3 separate regions of the Homo sapiens genome follow, and regions 1 and 2 are each linked to region 3. The links are contacts of gene promoters, found by promoter capture Hi-C in human tissues and cell types (Jung and others, 2019). All regions are on one chromosome and are shown on one strand. The core of a region is centred on a gene start or on the middle of the fragment in contact, and the rest is flanking DNA. Distances in the headings are between cores, read along the strand shown. Region 1 overlaps LOC105369308 (a long non-coding RNA gene). Region 2 overlaps SIM2 (SIM bHLH transcription factor 2). Region 3 holds the start of SIM2 (SIM bHLH transcription factor 2).

Region 1 (3,819 bases), core at 59-2,558, 35 kb after region 3:
GACCCAGCTACTTGGAGGGCTGAGGCAGGAGGGTCACTTGAACCTGGATGGTCAAGGCTGCAGTGAGCCGAGATCATGCCACAGAACTCCAGCCTGGGTGACAATGTGAGACCCTATGTCAAAAAAAAAAAAAATATATATATATATATATATATATGGAGCCCCTGATTTCTGAGTGTTTCTGTGATTCTGGATCAGAAATCATCTTGTTTCTTGAGGGCTCACCCCCTCCACCTCACTCCAGCTGGCAGGGCTCATCTCTCTCCAGCCCGCTAAGCCAGAGACCATTAGCCCATGCATTGTTCTCCCTTCAAAATATTGCTAAGCTTTCTCATATTCCACGGTTTCTTCTCCTGACCTTGTTGTCTCTGCAAGTGTGTTCCTTTTTTTGCCTTTACTGTCATTTTAGTGAGATTTGAGGAGAGTGTAGAGATAAACACATGTTGGCCGGGCATGATGGCTCATGCCTGTAATCCCAGCACTTTGGGAGGCCAAGACGGGCAGATCACGAAGTCAGGAGTTCGAGACCAGCATGGCCAACACTGTGAATCTCCATCTGTACCAAAAATACAAAAATTAGCTGGGCGTGGTGGTGCATGCCTGTGATCCCAGCTACTCGAGAGGCTGAGGCAGGAGAATCGCTTGAACCCAGGAGGCAGAGGTTGCAGTGAGCCGAGACTGCGCCACTGCACTCCAGCCTGGGTGACAGAGGGACTCTGTCTGAAAAAAAAAAAAAAAGAGAGAGAGAGAGAGAGAGAGAAACACCTGCCTAACTGGAAGCACCCTACAGTATCTTGATGTCTAGAGTAGCCTAGATTGGTCCTGTATAGACAGGAGACCTCCCTCCTTAGGGAGCTTAAGGGCCAAGAGTGGGTCACAGAGGGACCAGCGGGGTGTCCCGGATTGCCCCTGTTCTCTCTGGAGGCCAATCCCAGTGCTAAAGTGCAGTATACCTAAGTCACAGCTCCTCACCTTACAGGGGAAGCCTGAGCCCAGAGACCCGAAGTAACCCGCTGCGTGCCACTGCCAGCAAACGCACGACAAAATGACAAGGCTGGCAGGGAGATCTGGGCTGGGGTGTGGCCAGGGACAGCAAGTTGTCAGACTTTGTGCAACAGCGTTGTTGGCCTTCAGATTTGGCAGATTTTCATTCATTCGGGGAGTGCTGCCAGGTTTTGTTAATTAATTAAATGGAATTTATTAAATATAAAATGAAATGTCCATTTTCCTCTCTTCCAAGAATATGCCAAAATTGTAGCTTTACTCTTGTTTGAATGCTAATATTCTCTCTCGCTCTTTCTCTCTCTGTGTGTGTGTGTGTGTGTGTGTGTGTGTGTGTGTGTGTGTGTTTAAGGAGGAGAATAGCTATTGGTTCTGGAAAAAGTGTAACTAGGCTCTGAAATGGAAGTGCCCACTTCTGACCTTGGCTTCCAAACTCCCCTTTTCCTTCTGCACCCCCTCCTCATGTTGCCACTTTCTCTCTGGCCTCACAGCCTTGGCAGTGCTGGCCTCTGCCTGGACCCCTCTCCCCTCTCCCTTCTCTTCCCCTCCTCACTCCTGCTGCTTCTCCAGCTTAGATGCAGCTTCCTCCAGGAAGTCTCCTGAGATTTCCAGATGAGGGGAGGGCACTGATGAGGCTGCCCTGGGTGCCCCATTCTCTGCCTCGGGGGATTTGTCCCACATCATTGTGCTATCACCCCGAGTCTGTGAGCTCTGGAAGAGCAGCTGCCAGGCTTGCAATAATCTCTGCAGTAACCCCGGGCTACTGTCAGCACACCACAAATACTCAAGGGACTGAATGAAAGAGGTGGAATCCATCATTCTTTCTTTATTTCCTTGGCTTGAATCCCGCCTTTCATATTCATATTCATATCATATTCCATTTCTGATCTGTTTTTTATATTAAAAGTGTCATCACAAAAATTTAGCTGGGTCATTGCCGTCCCCTTCTAGTTGAGCATTTTGCTATTTTAATGCAAAAATAACTCTTTGAGGGAGAGGTGAACAAAGCTGTTAGATAAAATTAATTGGAGTCATTAAAAGTGAGTAAGTTTTTTTGGGAAAACCAGATTTTAGGGGCCAGTCCGGGGAAGCTCTGCAGGGGAGCAGCAGCTCCCGGGGTTCACCCCGCATTGCTCTCTGCTTTGTTCTGTGACCGCTGGGCTGTGGCAGCTGACTGGTGGTTCTCACTGGTAGCTGCTTAGTGGCGGTGACATATTAATTGAACCTCACTATTTCCAGGTGTGTGGCACACTCCAGGGTCACCAGTGCAGGGGGTTCATGTGTGTTCAATTACTGCTGCGATATGAAGGAATGCAACATGTCATTGTTCAAGTGTCAATTACCACCCCTCGCGGGGCTGCCTGAAAACTAAACCAATCAGCCCCTTCCCTGTGGAGCGTGTTCTGTTTGGGCTTGAAACGCTGTAAAGCACGCTGTAAACCATGTGCGTGTTCTCGAGAAACAGGGAAGAAACAGAGAGCCGAGAGGGGAAGGGCTAAAGGGCTGGTAAATTTATCTGGAAAGTTCAGGCATGTTCCCATTTATTTCCAGAAGGCACTAGGCAGTGTACAGGATATAAGATTGGAATTACAAAGTCACAGAGAGCTGAAATGATTCACTCAAGGATGCAACTATTTGCTAGGGGCCAGAGATGATGAAATATCTGTCGTTGTATATACCGGAGTTTTTATATGAAGCTAGTTTATGGACTTTACTTTTTTTTTTTTTTGAGACAGGGTCTTGCTCTGTCTCCCAGGCTGGAGTGCACTGGCACAATCATGACTCACTGCAGCCTCGACGTCCTGGACTCCAGCAATCCTCCTGCCTCAGCCTCCGGAGCAGCTAAGACTTCAGGCATGAACCACCACGCCTGGCTAATTTTTTTTGTAATTTTTATAGAGATGGGTCTCACTATATTGCCCAGGTTGGTGTCAAACTCCTGAGCTTAAGCAATCTTCCTGCCTCAGCCTCTGAAAGTGCTGGGATTACAGGTATGACCCACAGTGCCTGGCCAACCATATATATATATATATATATATATATATATATATATATATATATATATATGTATATGTGTGTATATATATATATATATGTATGTGTATATATATATGTAGGCCAACCATATATATATATATGTATGTGTGTGTGTATATATATATGTATGTGTATATATATATATATATATATATATATATATATATTTTTTTTTTTTTTTTTTTTTTTTTTTTTTTTGAGATAGAGTCTTGCTCTGTCACCCAGGCTGGAGTGCAGTGGCACGATCTCAGCTCACTGCAACCTCCGCCTCCAGGATTCAAGCAATTCTCCTGCCTCAGCCTCCTGAGTAGCTGGGATTATAGGCGCACGCCACCCTGCCCAGCAAATTTTTGTATTTTTTTTAGTAGAGATGAGGTTTCACCATGTTGGCCAGGCTGGTTTCGAACTCCTGACCTCAAGTGATCCGCCTGCCTCAGCCTGCCTTGGCCTTCCAGAGTGCTGGGATTACAGGCATGAGCCACCGCTCATTTTACATTTTACATTTTAAATGTTTATAGCTAGCATTTACGTGAAGTGCAGAAATATACAATTATCTGCAAGTCTTGGCCCCATGTATATTAATCTAAAGTTGTGATAATGTGGCAATTGAAACATGAAATTAATTTATGTAAAACGTTGAAAAAAGCGAAGGTCTTCTGCCTGCTCCTGCTGTTGTGAACTGTCACCGAATCCTTTCCCCTTTGGATTTATTCGGACCGGCACGAGGCCATGACACACCAAGCCTGTCCCAGGAGGCCCCCTGTTGGAGGGATTGTTCTT
Region 2 (4,055 bases), core at 759-3,258, 35 kb before region 3:
TGGGAGGGCAGGAGGCTGAATAGGAAGTCTGGCCTCACTGCCCTTCCCTCAAGCCAGGCCCTGAGCCGGGCTGTCAGCCACCAAAGCACTGTGTGACAGGACTAACAAGTCCCATTTCAAAATGGGGCCTCCCACCTTCTCAGCTTCTCCCCTGTCCTCCCCAAGTCGGCCTCTGCAGCTATAATATGGGAAGGGCCTCTCCCCACAACTTGAGTGAGGATACGGACATATTAAGGAATGACCTAGTTGAGGGCTGAATTGTGCCTGGGACACTAAGACAGTCCCCAAGTCCCCATCAGGACCCAAACACCACAAGACAAAAGCATCGTCCAGACCTGAGGTCCCTTGGTTGGGACTCTGTGGGGCCAAGCAGCAGTGGGGCACATGTCCCCAAGAGGAGAGCAGCAGCTATTGGTACAAAGCCAGGAGTGGAGACAGAGCTGGAGAGTGTGGGGGATGGGCTTCCCTCAGCCCTCACACAGCAGTGGTGTGGGTGTAAGGACGCTCCTGTCAGCCAACAGGGACCCCCAGAGAGAGGCGTGGCCTCTGTGGACAAGGGAAAGATGACAGACAGGGCTCGGAAGGGAGAAACTTGTGGAAGGTTAGAACAGAGAACATCTTAACACAGCCTGGATGAAGGCCCAGCAGGGAGGAAGCTGACGACAGGCTGTGAAGACATCAGCCTTGCTCTGGCCCAGCCACATCCACTGGCCTGACCTGTTCTCCCCCACTGAGGCCTTTCTTTGGCAGGGCCCACCCTGACCATGTTGGGGGTAAGCCAGGCAATCAAGGCCCCCTGAGAGCTGCCCTCCAGCTACTGACTGACAGGCACAGGGGTATCAATACCTCAGCTCACTCTCCCCTCTGCTTGATGACACTGGCTCTGGGGTATCCCCGGCGTTGAGCGCCAGCCTCCCTCGGCTGTAGCCAGTGGACAACACCCTTTGTGGCTCCTTCTCTTCTCTGGCTCACTCCTCCCCTGGCCATGTCTAGTCACTGTCCAAATCAACCATTGCACTTCAACTCCAGGCTCTGGGGCAGCTTCTGGAGTTTCAGGAAATCAAACAGGTGCCACCCAGCCCTGGGGATGGAGAGGCAGGAACAGGAGGCCTGGGGTTGGCCCCTCTGGCCCAGGTTCTGTACCTGGGAAGGAGAGTGAGGCCTCCACAATCACAAAGCTCCATACCATGAAGACCCCGACTCTGAAGACCCTGCTTGGGAGTTGACTGTCTTCCCAGAGAGTTCTAGCTTTGGAGAGGCGTGTGACATTCCAGTTGAGTGCTCTGAGGGGAGGCTGCTGCTCAGCCCTGCAGGTGGTTCCCACGCTGGAACCAAAGAACTCCCCATCATCTGAGACTATCCTTGCTTCCCCTCCCTCTCAAAGCTGCCAGGGGAAACTGAGGCAGGCACACTCATGGTGAACTCCAAGACCACACCAACCCACCGGCCTGGCTGGGGTGCAGTCTTTTCTGGTTGTTTCTCTAGCACAGCTAAGGTCAGAGTCACAGGACAGTAGCAATCACTGTCAATCTTGCTATTTTCTGTTTTCTTTGAATTACCAATTCTGGCTCATTTGGAAAAGAAAGCCATGCCCCGTCTAATTTCTAAACACGCCTACCTTTTTGAGCCTGTGCCTGCTTGCCCTTTCAGAGTCCCCTTGGACAACTTCAATATCTGGAAACTTCCTGTGAGATAAAGTGGCTTCATCATATAAACCACAGAAGACCCCTCAAATAAAATCACCTTGTGGGTCTGGTGAGCCAGGCAAGCTCAGGAGGGCTGGGATCCTACAGAACAGCCACCAGCCCACATCTCCAAGGTTAAGCCCCGTGGTGTGGTGTGGTGTGGTGGTGACGGCTGACAGCACGACAGCCAATGGGCTGGACTTTGGTCCTGCCCCAGCTCCACTGCTGCCCTTGGACAAGTGTCCCCTGAGTCTCACCCTGATCACCTGGGAAAAGGGCACGAGAGGGACACAGCTCCCCAAACTGCCCGCAGGTCAGAGTCTATAAGTGAAAGCATCTACCCATGATGGACACAGAGGAGGCACTGACTGAGCACCACTGTGGGCTTCATGACTGTTCCAAAGCAAATGGGGAAAAAAATCCCTGCTTCGGGCCGGGCATGGTGGCTCACGCCTGTAATCCCAGCACTATGGGAGGCCGAGGCGGGCGGATCACGAGGTCAGGAGATTGAGACCATCCTGGCTAACACGGTGAAACCCCGTCTCTACTAAAAATACAAAAAAAATTAGCCAGGCTTGCTGGCGGGCGCCTGTAGTCCCAGCTACTTGGGAGGCTGAGGCAGGGCAATGGCATGAACCCGGGAAGAGGAGCTTGCAGTGAGCCGAGATCGCACCACTGCACTCCAGCTTGGGTGACAGAGCAAGACTCTGTCTGAAAAAAAAAAAAAAAAATCCCTGCTTCCTGGGTTAGCCAGGCAGTGTGAGATAAAAGACATGGTATTTAAAAAGAAGACTTTTGTCTAGGTGCAGTGGCTCACACCCGTAGTCCCACTTGAGGTCAGGAGTTCAAGACCAGCCTGCTCAACATGGCAAAACCCTGTCTGTATTAAAACTAAAAAAATTAGCCAGGCGTGGTGGTGGGCACCTGTAATCCCAGCTACTTGGGAGGCTGAGACACGAGAATTGCTTGAACCCAGGAGGCAGAGGCTGCAGTGAGCTGAGATCATGCCACTGCACTCCAGCCTGGGCAACAGAGCGAGACTCCATCTCATTAAAAAAAAAGAGATTTTTGATTCCCTCAGTTTTGTCTCTGTGCTTAGAGGCCTAATTTCCTGCCTTTCAGCCCGCTGTGAAGAGCAAGTCTTCTCTTGCTGTAATTCGGGGGTATGCTTTAAACTCCCCAGCATTCTCCTGCCTCCATGGAAGGGGGCTCCAGACCCCCCAGGGCTGGGGCTTTCCCTTAGAACAGCTGGTCAGCCCCTCCGCCCCAACAGTGGCAGGGGGAGCGTGTGGAGGTATGAGCCCTCACCTTCACTCTCCAAGTCCCAGACTGTTCTAGGGCACAGCACAGCTCTATGCCCTCGAGGCAAATGCCTCTCCCGTCTCCCAACTGCTCTTGCTACTGCAGAGCCCCTCCACTCTGCTCTTCACACCCGCCTGATCAAGTCTCCTGGATATCTGATTCTAGAATTGACACACCATACCCAGTTTGCTCAAGAAAACTTTCTAGCTCCCATATTAGTGACACCGACGGAGAAGTTCCATCCGAACACTAAGCAGCTGCTTCTCTACCAAGCTTGGTCTCCAGAATGACAGAGATGGTTATGAGATCATGATTTGGTCTTTAACAAAAGACACAAAAGGGTTGTTCACACCTCCAAGTCTCCACATGAGTCAAGGAGCAAGGAAGAAGCCGTCTGTGCCTGCTCAGCCATAAGTCCTGGTTGTCACGGGTTTCTGTCCATAGAGATTTGGGGAGGGAAGAGCAACAGCGACACCCTGGGAGTATCGAGTTCCCGGGTCCCAGTCCACACGGAGCCCAGCACACCACGCATCTGTGGACCTAGCGGCCTGCGGGCCTGCCGTCCCCCTCCCACTCGACACTGGCAACCTGTCCTCTAACGTCCCTGAGCCAACAGAAGGCAGAGCAAGAACAGAGGACATGCCATCTGGGCCACACTGCAGAAGACCCAGCTCCTCTAACTGTCTGCACCCCATTATAAAGCACCCCCGACTGGCCATGGGCGTGGCAGGGCTGGACAGCAGGAGGATGAGGCATTCCACTCCATCCAAATTAGTCTTTGCCTCCATTTGGATTCTGAAAGTGTGTGGCTGGGTGCGGTGGCTCATGCCTGTAATCCCAGCACTTTGGGAGGCGGAGACAAATGGATCACCTGAGGTCAGGAGTTCGAGATCAGCCTGGCCAACATGGTGAAACCCCGTCTCTACTAAAAATACAAAGATTAGCCAGGCGTGGTGGCATGCACCTATAATCCCAGCTACTTGGGAGGCTGAAGCAGGAGAATTGCTTGAACCCAGGAGGCGGAGGTTGCAGTGAGCCAAGTTCATGCCACTGCACTCCAGCCTGGGC
Region 3 (3,824 bases), core at 344-2,843:
AGAGGGCCCGGCTCAGCACAAGTGTTCGCTCTGTGGCCTCAGCCTGCAGTGCTTGGGCCTCACCGTGATCCCCGCTGACTCGCAGCGCCTGAAGCTGACCCTCCTTCACCTCCTCCAGAAGAGACAAAAAGAGGGAGGAATGAAGGAAAAATAAAGGGAATCGTAGAAAGAAAAGGAGGAAGGGAAGGAGGGATAAAGAAAGGAAGGGATGGGGAAAGAAAGAAAGCAAAACCAGAGTGAACTTCCAAAGAAAGGAAGGAAAGCAGAAAAGGAAAGAAAACAAACCAATGCATTGGCAAAGGAAGGAAGGAAGGAGGGAGGGAGAGAGGGGGCCAAGGAAGGAAGGAAGGGGAGAATGAAAGAAAGAGGAAGAAAGAAAGAAAAAGAAAGAGAAAGAAAGAAAGAAAGGAAAGAAAGAGAGAAAAAAATCCAAACCAAACCAGAATGCACTGGCGAAGGAAGGAAGGAGGAAAGGGAGAAAGAACAAAACCAGAAAGAACTCGCTGGCCGTGCGGGCTGGGGGACTGCCTGCCCCTGGAACAATTCGTAATTCGCCCTCACCCAGCCCTGGACCAGGAGAGGGTTTGGTCGCCTGGGCCGCCAAGGCCCTGGCCCCTCGCCCCAAGCCAGCGCCGAAGCCGAAGACCCTCACGCAACCTCCCTCAGACGCCCCAGCTCTGGACGCCAGGCCGCGGCAACCCCTCTGGGCGGGCTGGCTTGCGCTTCCCGCCTGGGCCGGGGCCGCCGGGCTCCCCAGCGTCCCCGGCCGCCCACCTGAGGCCTCACCTTCGGGGAAGACGGCGCGCATCTTCAGGTAGCTCGTGGTGAGGCGGATGATGGACGCTTTGTCCAGCTGCGAAGTGATGGCCGACGGCAGCGGGAGCAGCTTGGCAAGCTCGTAAAACTCGCCATTTTCCTTCTCCCTCCTGGTCTTGGCCGCATTCTTGGACTTCTCCTTCATCGCGCCTCGGCTCCGGGCATATTAGACCCGGCCGTGCTCCAGGCCCGCGGAGCCCCGCTCGGGCTGCGGCGGCGGGGATGGGGAAGGGGGAGCCGGGAGCCAGGTGAGTCCGCGGAGTGGGCCGCGGGCAGGTGCGGGGGGCCTCCCGGGGTTCCGAGACGCCTCCCCGCAGCCGCCGGGCCTGAGCTCCGAGCAACCCGGCGGCGCCGCCCGCCGCTGCCCGGAGCGCAGCCTCCTCCGGGCTGGACCGTCCTGCAGCAACCGGAGCCCCGTTCCTGCTCGCTCCTGTTTCCTCCCTCCTGCCTCTCCTGCCTCGGCCTTCCTGGGGGGTGGGGGCGGCCGGCGCGGAGGCGGAGGCGCTGCTTACTCCTTCGTCGAGTGCTCGAACCGGCTGCGGCAAGGCCCCTCCGGACCGGAGGGCGACAGGGGCGGCGGTGGCCGCGGAGCCATGGAGCGGGAGCCCAGCGGAGGGGAGCGAGTCGCAGGCGGCTGGGGCCGGGCCCTGGCCCGGGCGCGCTCTCCTGCCCTTCCTGGCGGCTCCCTGTGCCTGGAGACGCAGCGCCGGAGCCCGCGATGTGTGGCTAGGCGCAGCACCTCCGCTGTCCACGTGCGGCCGAGCCGCGTTTGTTTATGGCAGACCCGCCTTCGGGCGGAGCACTGGCCGCCTGGGTCCCGGAGGGGGGAGCGGGAGGGGGGAGGGACCGCGGCGGGGGCGGGGGCGGCGAATCTTGCCTCCGACCCCGCCGCGGCCCTGGAGTCACAGGCGCGCCTCCGCGTCGCTGCCTCCAGGGACTCTCCCGGGAGAGACCCGCGCGCTCCCGGGTTCGGGGAAGTCGCGGTGAGTGCACACGGCGCGCCGCGGGGACCCGCTCCTGAGCGCCGGTCGCCGGACCCCGGAGCTAGGATGGGCGGCAGGGAGGGCGAGGGAAGGAGGGGTGCCGAGGCCGCCCCTGTGGCTCTCGGGAAGGTCACCAGCAGGCGCGGCCGAGAGGAGGCGGCGCGACTCGTTGGCCAGGCGCCCTGCCGGGGAGGATCGAGCCTTCCGAGGGTGCGCTGGTCCCGCGTCCTCGCCCTCCCGGTGTTGCAGGTCCAAGAGCTGAAAAGGGGAAAGCCGGGAGCCCCCCTCCCCCCATTACACACACACGTGAAAACGGCGCGAGTGGCTCCGAAGTGACCCTTCTGCCCTTTCTGTCCTCGAAACACTAAGGTGCAAAGAGATTGTCGCCTTCTCAGGAGGAGCGGGAGGCCGCAGGGGCGCTCAGGCCAGGGGAAGGGAGGGGCCAGGGAGCCCAGCCGAGTGGTGAGGCCTCTCCCAGGGCGCCGGCGGAAACAGGGCCCAACTGCCGGGGCGGCGGCAAAAGCAGCCCGATTCAGCGCAGCCGGAATTTTGAGGAATCGGCGTTGGGCGATTAAGGGCCAAGGTCGCTGAGCCAGGGTCACAGGGTGGGCGCAGGTGGCGCAGGTGGGGCCCATGGTGATGGGGCAGAAGGCAATTGGAGAAAGAAGACTCCGTTGCAGACGCGGCCACTGGGCATTCTGGACTCTCCTTCAGGGTCATTTTGGACCTAAAGAGTCCTTTTGTCCCCCCTCTGCCCTCCCCTGTCCGGCTCCCGCAGCCTGGAAATGGGTGTGCGGCCCAGGAGTCCTCCGCGCACCCCTGCAGCGGCGGTCACATAACCCCACCTCTTCCAGGAGTGCAGCTTTCCCGGCCCCCCAGGCCAGAGACAGGCTCAGAGGACGCAGGGCAATTCCTTACCTTGGCGTCGAGATCATGTGGGGACTCTCGGCCGTGTGCCACAGGCTGCAGAGCCGTGGAGCAGTGGGGTGCGTGACCTGGAGGTCAGCAGGGGCCGGGAGGACACCGGGCCGCGGATGGGGGCGCGGAGATTTGGGTTCTCGGTGTCACTGCTCTCGCCACTGGCCCGGGATCATGAGCCTGCTGCTCCGAAAACTCGCCGTCGGACAGCGACTGAGTATCCGCTTCCCTCCCCTGGCCCTCCCCTGCGCCAGGAAGGCCTGGCCTTCGGCAACCGTGCCTGCAGCAGGCGCTCCTGACCTTTTCCAGGGACTCCTTTGAAGGTCAAAAGTTCGAAGGCGTTCGAAGCCGAGCAGGCTCCCTCCAGGGGCTGGAAGGTGTGCGCAAACCCGGGCTCTCCCCCTGCCTGTCCCTAGCCCCTTGCGGAGTCCACATCGTGGCCAGGGCTCGCAGGCTTGGTGCTCCGAAACCGCGACGCCACGCGAGCCGGACGCACAGAGTAACAGCGCTTTCCTTTGGGGTTTCGGATCCAGGAGCGCTTTCCTGTTGCAGCGGCTTGAGCAGAGGGCCATGGGCTAGCGGCGCGGGTCTCCAATGCCCAAGCCTGGCGAGTCGGACCCACCTCCGCGCCCAGGATCCCGCTCCTGGCTGCGCTGACAGCTGCCGGCTCCGGGCCTCTGGGAGAAGGAGCTCCAAGGGGTTAGAGGCTACGGACCCAGCCCCTGCCGCAGCTTCCGCAGGCGGCCCCCTGAGCCCGCTCTGGCACCTCCTGGGCTTCGGGAGGATTTAATGCGTTTCTCACCCCCACGGCTTCCGACCCTCAATTATGGACCCGGGAGAATTCCTCCTGGGCTTGAAAGGGATTACCCAGATCGCAGAAACATGGCTAAGTGGAAGTGGGAGAAACCCGACAAGTAACAAGAACGGAAACTTTCCTCAAGGCAAATTTCCCGGATTTTACGGGAAAGCGCACTTATCTTCCCAGGGACAGCCTCTGTTCACGTGTCCGCGAGGCAGGTTCGAAGCGCGCTACGGGAGGCAGAGCAATGCCGTGTTTGAAGACTGGAAGATACGTGGGTGTGAGATACCTCCAGGCCCAACGCCTGC

What was found. Contacts are between HindIII fragments. The study calls those that stand out against the background at their distance.
Region 1: a fragment that was not itself captured here is called in contact with the fragment with the promoter of SIM2 in region 3 in 1 of the 25 tissues and cell types used here (H1 embryonic stem cells).
Region 2: a contact is called between a fragment that was not itself captured here and the fragment with the promoter of SIM2 in region 3, in 2 of the 25 tissues and cell types used here (IMR-90 fibroblasts and spleen).

Annotation. Positions count from the first base shown.
Region 1 is chr21:36,662,040-36,665,858 of GRCh38, reverse strand. The region is part of intron 1 of LOC105369308 (a long non-coding RNA gene); the gene reads left to right. Among named protein-coding and RNA genes, the nearest start is that of SIM2, 35 kb to the left of the region's middle. The HindIII fragment of the contact is 5,223 bases long and covers 1-3,819 here.
Region 2 is chr21:36,731,922-36,735,976 of GRCh38, reverse strand. The region is part of intron 7 of SIM2 (SIM bHLH transcription factor 2); the gene reads right to left. Among named protein-coding and RNA genes, the nearest start is that of SIM2, 35 kb to the right of the region's middle. The HindIII fragment of the contact is 5,714 bases long and covers 1-4,055 here.
Region 3 is chr21:36,696,884-36,700,707 of GRCh38, reverse strand. SIM2 (SIM bHLH transcription factor 2) reads right to left here and starts at 1,593. Exons shown (of 11, transcript NM_005069.6): 1 at 787-1,593. The coding sequence starts at 961. LOC105369308 (a long non-coding RNA gene) reads left to right here and starts at 1,717. Exons shown (of 3, transcript NR_188246.1): 1 at 1,717-1,799. LOC107985492 (a long non-coding RNA gene) reads right to left here and starts at 192. Exons shown (of 4, transcript XR_001755029.1): 1 at 1-192. RefSeq lists an enhancer at 1-366. The HindIII fragment of the contact is 19,577 bases long and covers 1-3,824 here.